Regions from separate parts of the Homo sapiens genome. Here region 2 is linked to region 1. The links are contacts of gene promoters, found by promoter capture Hi-C in human tissues and cell types (Jung and others, 2019). All regions are on one chromosome and are shown on one strand. The core of a region is centred on a gene start or on the middle of the fragment in contact, and the rest is flanking DNA. Distances in the headings are between cores, read along the strand shown. Region 1 holds the start of TANC1 (tetratricopeptide repeat, ankyrin repeat and coiled-coil containing 1). Region 2 overlaps BAZ2B (bromodomain adjacent to zinc finger domain 2B).

The links. The method cuts DNA at HindIII sites, captures the fragments that hold promoters and counts their contacts. A contact is called where the count stands out against the background at its distance.
Region 2: a contact is called between a fragment that was not itself captured here and the fragment with the promoter of TANC1 in region 1, in 1 of the 25 tissues and cell types used here (hippocampus).

The regions. Positions count from the first base shown.
Region 1 is chr2:158,967,117-158,970,013 of GRCh38, reverse strand. It overlaps TANC1 (tetratricopeptide repeat, ankyrin repeat and coiled-coil containing 1), which reads right to left and starts at 1,374. Exons shown (of 27, transcript NM_033394.3): 1 at 1,232-1,374. RefSeq lists silencers at 1,339-1,418, 1,479-1,588. The HindIII fragment of the contact is 16,038 bases long and covers 1-2,897 here.
Region 2 is chr2:159,427,215-159,430,111 of GRCh38, reverse strand. It overlaps BAZ2B (bromodomain adjacent to zinc finger domain 2B), which reads left to right. Exons shown (of 37, transcript NM_013450.4): 11 at 852-912; 12 at 1,693-1,801; 13 at 2,070-2,171. Among named protein-coding and RNA genes, the nearest start is that of WDSUB1, 140 kb to the right of the region's middle. The HindIII fragment of the contact is 5,314 bases long and covers 1-2,897 here.

The DNA.
Region 1 (2,897 bases), core at 125-2,624:
CCAACCCACGTTAAGACTCAGCTTCCATTTACCTTGTAACCTGTACGGACGACGCTGCTTCTGGGGTCAAGTTCAAGATGAAAGTTCCCTCCTCACCTCCCAAGTTAACTCCAGCAGGGAACAACGCCACTGAGAACGGTCCCAACACTGGAGGCACGCGGATCTGGAGCTGGCAGGAGGGGGCTGGGAGAAGGCCGTTGCCGAGCCTGGCGTCCTCCGCCCCTTGGCCGCAGCGCCGCGTTTCTACCTGGCCAACGCCACATTTCCTCCCGGAGCTTTACACAATAAGTCCAGTAAGTTTTGAGAACACCGGTCCAGGGACCTTTCTGTCTGCAAACACACCACACAATGCCTAGAGCTTCCTTCCCAGCCAGGCGTTCCGGAAAGCCGCCGCGCCAAAGCCGGGAGCCCCGCACACCCACAGCGCTGCGCGCCCGCACCCCAAAGTCCTCCAGGAAGCCAGTGCCCTGATATCGTCCCCCGAAAATGACCACTCTGCATCCAAGAACAAGGGGGCTCACAATCTTGACAATTACCGCTCTTCTCAGCGCCCCACCCCTAAAGAAAAACCCCCAACGTCTAATCCTAACTCACCCCCACCCCCAATAAAGGAGTGTGGATATGCTAATCGCAGTGTTCTTGGAAGCAAAGCAATAGACTTTCAGCCCAGACTGGGGCAATACCATGCCTCCGGCTTAAGTTCTCTCGGCAACTTCGCGACCCGCGCACCCCAACACTCCGGGGGGCGCCCAGGACCCCGCGGTGCCAGGCGCGCCTCCCCCCGCCTCCCCCGCGCCAGGTACCAGGCGTAGCCCAGGCCCTTGCCAAGCCCGAGGGCTACAGAGAAGGCGGGAAAGGGGGCGAGCGGGCGCGCCGGGCGGGGGTGGTCCCAGAACTCGAGCGTGCCCCAAGCGTTCCCGGTTCCCACCACACCGGTTCCAGGGGAGGCCGGCTCGGTCCGGCGCGGGGGAACCGCGCAAGGAAGGTGCGGACTCCCCAAAGCCGCCGAGAGACCAAGGCCCGGGGCGCCCAACATGTCTGTGCCTATTCCCGGAAAGCTCCCGGGTGTGCCCGGCGGAGGAGGGGGCGCTCCAGAAACTTTCCCACACGCCTTTCCCTTCTCCCATCACCCTCTCCACCCCGGGTCCCTCTCGACCTCTCCGCACACTGGCAGCTGGCCATGCCCGGGGCGCTCGCAGGCCCGCGGCGGAGTCCGGGCTGCGGGAGTTACCTGCCGGGAAAGTTTCCAGCTCCTCAGCGCGGTTCCCCACACCCAGGGCCGGGCCTCGGGGCGAGGCCAGCTCGGCGCTCCGCGGCTGCCTCTCCTCCGGCTCCCGAGGCGGCCGCCGCTCCAGCAGCTGCCACAGCAAAGCCTCCGCTCCGGCCCGTCCCCCCGCCTTGCTCGGCCCACACCGGGGCCTCATTGGCAGCGCGAATCCCCGCCCTTGCGCGTGTTCCCGAAGGCACCTTCCTCTCGCGCGCCCGCCCCGGCCGCGCCTCCCGCGCCCCTCCCCGCCCCGGGCTGCGGCGGATCCAGGGACCGGCTGGAGCGCGGAGCGCGAACTTTCCGCGGGGCTTGGGCGCGAGGTCCCCTTGTCCCGCCTCTCGGCGCCAGGTCCGGGCCTGAAGCACCCTACCATCCCTCTGGGCACCGGGTCCCCCGGGGCTGCGCCTAGGCCCCTCTGGGACCAAAATGAGATGGGCCATAGTCTTTTTTACAGCCTCTTCAAAATCAATAAAGCGACCCGGCCTTCCCTCCTCGCTGCTTTTTTACCACAGCCGAGGAGGACATATGGGAGCAATTAACCGAGCTGGAGTTTCCGTGGACGCTTTGGGGTGGCTTGTGCGGCTTTCTTGGATTTTCTCTGCCTCACTTAACTACACACAAACACAAACACACTTTCTGGGGCCAGAATCAGCTAAATGAGCTGGAAGGTCTAAGAAGGCATCTCACCGGCTGCGTCTTTTTATTTCCCAAAAGGAATGGGGGACGTTCTGGGGCCGGTGATTTCCCGGGCGTCCCTGGGGCCGCGGGTCTGGAGCCTCCTGCGACCGCTCCGGGCTGGCCCGTGCTGTCTGCGCTACATTCACAGAGGGCCAGCGTCGTGCTTCTGTCGGAAGGAGGTGGGAGGGACGGAGGGGAGAGAACACACAAAGATGCTATTATTTTGTCGGTTGGTGGCAGTAAATTAAACTCCTGAGTTCCCAAAATGTTTTGTTATTCTCCAGCAGAGCAAAAACCAGGATAGGGACTAGGGATTCGGGTGTCCTGGGTTCTCCAAGATCCTCCCAGGAATCCCAGGCAGCCAAATTGGCCTAAGGGACTCTGCTCACTTAATACCCGAAGCTCTCTAAGACAGCCTTCGTTGATCTAGTTGACGAAGGAAGGATCAACTAGAACTGCCGCTGCCTTGTGTGGCCAGCGGGAATTGTGCACGGGTCACCCCATTGGTGTGTCTGGAGCAGAGAATAGAGAAGTTGCTGTAAACCGATTTATTGGTAACCCCTAACCTTGCTGTGGCAAACCCGCCTTAAAATACGATTGTGTTTTAAACAAGTTTCCTCATAAAAACTTCAACCTCACGCAGAGCTTCCCTATATAAAGACACCAGCAGGAGGGGTGTCCATATTTAAAGTTCTTATGAAAAGGGACAGGAAGCAAAATGCCACACAATCTCTTTTCATAAATTAAAAAGACTGAAATGGACTGGATTTTTCACCCATAGTTTCAAAGGCCTGATTACTGCTGTGTTGATATTTGAGCAGTAAACACATCAGCGGCCTTGAAGTATTCCCGAAACAAGGCAGGATAGAATATTGAAAATAAAAATACAAACTTAAACCAGAAAACTATTGACTTCTTTCTCCATCTGAAATGTTTCATTGCTGAAAAATAT
Region 2 (2,897 bases), core at 287-2,786, 460 kb before region 1:
ATGCTATCTGCCCAATATATAGCCAGTGTCTTTTCTATTAGAGAGTAGCATTCTTATTCCATTAACGTGCCATGTCCTTTTTTTTCCCATTTGACTTTTTATAAATTCCTAGAGGTCTTCATTAAACATTTATACACTTAATATTCCACAACTACTCTCAGTTCTCATTCAATGTCTAAGAAAATATAGATGTATATAGTAAAATATTTTGTTGTTTTACTTATTTCACTCTCCTCTTGTCAGTTTCTAGCTTTACTTTCATTTACCACATACCAATATGATAGCCTACTAATTTTAGATGAACTTATTTGTGTTTGTGAAACTTGATCTCGGTCTTAGAAAATTTTTACATAAAATCATAATCCTGTTCCTTGGTGGCTTAGGTTAATTAAAAGACCTGGTAGTGTTTTTGACTATGGATTTATATGGACATAGAAATTAAATCGTCTTTAAATATATGAGCCAGCTGTTGAAATTTTTCAGCATCCAAAAACTCCTATTTTCAAAGTCAACAGTTTAAATAGATTTTCTGAAACCTCTATTTCTCTCCTGCTTCTCTAGCCATTTCTTTAATAATAAAATGAGAGGAAAGGTGTATATTTTTACCTTGGATTGTATTTTCTTTAGAGAGAAAAACTAGTTATCCTGTCATTCAGACCCAAAAGAAGAAAAAAGCCCCCTGCCTTATACAGTGTTTTATTGAAAACCATCTAAAAATAATGTATAAATTACAGAAATACACTAAATCCAAGTTATTAACATATACTTTTTTAAAGAAAAGTTTCTAAACTATCAATATTATTATTTATATTAATGAATGTTTTATATTAACCAATTGAATTTTTTTAAAGGCACTTCCAAAAGAAGAAGAGTAACAGATGAACGTGAACTGCGTATTCCATTGGAATATGGGTATGCAAAATAAGGTTTTCCTTTTTCTTTTTCCCCCATATATTTATGCAAGTTTGATGTATACTTGATTTCTCATTCTCTACAATTAATAGAAGAAGTACATAGCTGCATAGTATTTATTAGAGCAGAAGAGCCGGAGCAAAGGGCAAGGAATTTGGTATATCAGAAAACTGAAATTAATCCTGTTTCCTGGAGGTATGGCAGAGCTGGGGTGGGATGATACAGCCAAGTAGGAACATGACTGAAAAAGAACCAAGAGCAAATCAGATGGCAAAGGGCAGGAGTACATGAGACTGTGAGAAGTTTTTGTGAAGATAGAATTAAAGGACAGTAAAAGCCACTTTGGTCAAAATTGAGGGACTCAACCAGAGTTTGGCTAAAATGGTTTAATTAGAAATGACAGCTTTTAGACTGGATGTACGTGAACCCCAAGCAGCAGAGAGCCAGGTTTACTTTACTCCTCCCTTAAAGCTTTTCAGATGTAAAAAATCAGTACACATTAACATGTTACTGAAATGTCAGAGTACCCAAAGTAATCAAGTATGATTTCTAAAAATTTTGATGGAGTTTAATATATAAATTGAATAATTAATTTTCTAGTTGAATTAGCTAAAAATCTAAATAATTTTGAGAGTTAATGTATTTGGGTTGTTTGAGGAGTTTATTTTTGTTTTCATTTTTTATGTTTTCTAGAGAACATGTATACTTTAACTTATTTTTAATTTTTAAAAGCTTTCTTGAAATTAAGTATGTCATAACCTTCATTTCTGTTATGTGTAGCTGGCAGAGAGAGACAAGAATAAGAAACTTTGGAGGGCGCCTTCAAGGAGAAGTAGCATATTATGCTCCATGTGGAAAGAAACTTAGGCAGTACCCTGAAGTAATAAAGGTACATACTTTTCACCAAATAATGTACATTTGGTGCCTATTAAGCATGATCATGTACAAAAAAAAAGTGTACTCCTTTCTCAGATAAAGTTCCTTGATACTAAATATTCTCTTGTATGGGACTATTGTACTTAACCTAAATTGATCTCCTATAAATTTAGAGCCCCTTGATAGAATATGCAAAACATTAGTGTCCTGAAGCTAGCTATACATCAAAGCTGGGTTGTAATTATTAAAACCTGAAGTGGAAAAATATGTGATTTTTTCAGTATCTCAGCAGAAATGGAATAATGGATATCTCAAGGGACAATTTCAGCTTCAGTGCAAAAATAAGAGTGGGTGACTTCTATGAAGCCAGAGATGGACCGCAGGTATCCACTTTTTAAAAAGTATAGTCTTTGAACCAAAAAGTAGTACCATAACCTAAATGAAGTAAATTTCACTACACTCTGGAGCATTGCCTTTCTTTAATTAGTTCATATGGCTATACATATAACTTTGTGGTAAGCACTCATTAAGGCCTCAATTAACTATGTTTCAGTAACAAGGAGCTTTGACATAATAGGTATCTTTTTCATATTTAAGTAAATTTTTTCTGTTTATTAATTCAACCAATAACTTTACAGTTTATATAGGTATAAAAGCATCTGCATCTTCATATGAAATATAGGAAAACATTAGTTTTCTGAAAAGTACAGCTAGTTTTAAAAACTAATTTGAATATGAAGACCCTATTATTATAAGTCAGTCCAAAAGAGGATATGTATGCCCTAGTGTTTTGGAAGAATCTTGTCCATTTGATTATGCCACGCTATATGATGCATTTTCACAAGTTTGATAAGTTTTTTTTTGTCATTTCTTAAAATTAGGTGAATGAAATTTCTGGTTTTTGCAGAAATTCAGTTTTTACATTAAGTGGTACACATTTCTGAACATATCACCACAGCTCCCTTTGAGCTTACAGTGTTAAGTACACATCCTCACCAGTCAGCAAAAAGAACCCACCAAGGAGATCTCATTTCCTGTATGTTTTCTTTAATGCTTTCCCTTTGTTCCTTAGTTGTATTCAGCTGCATGTGCTTATTATTCCCTTTAGC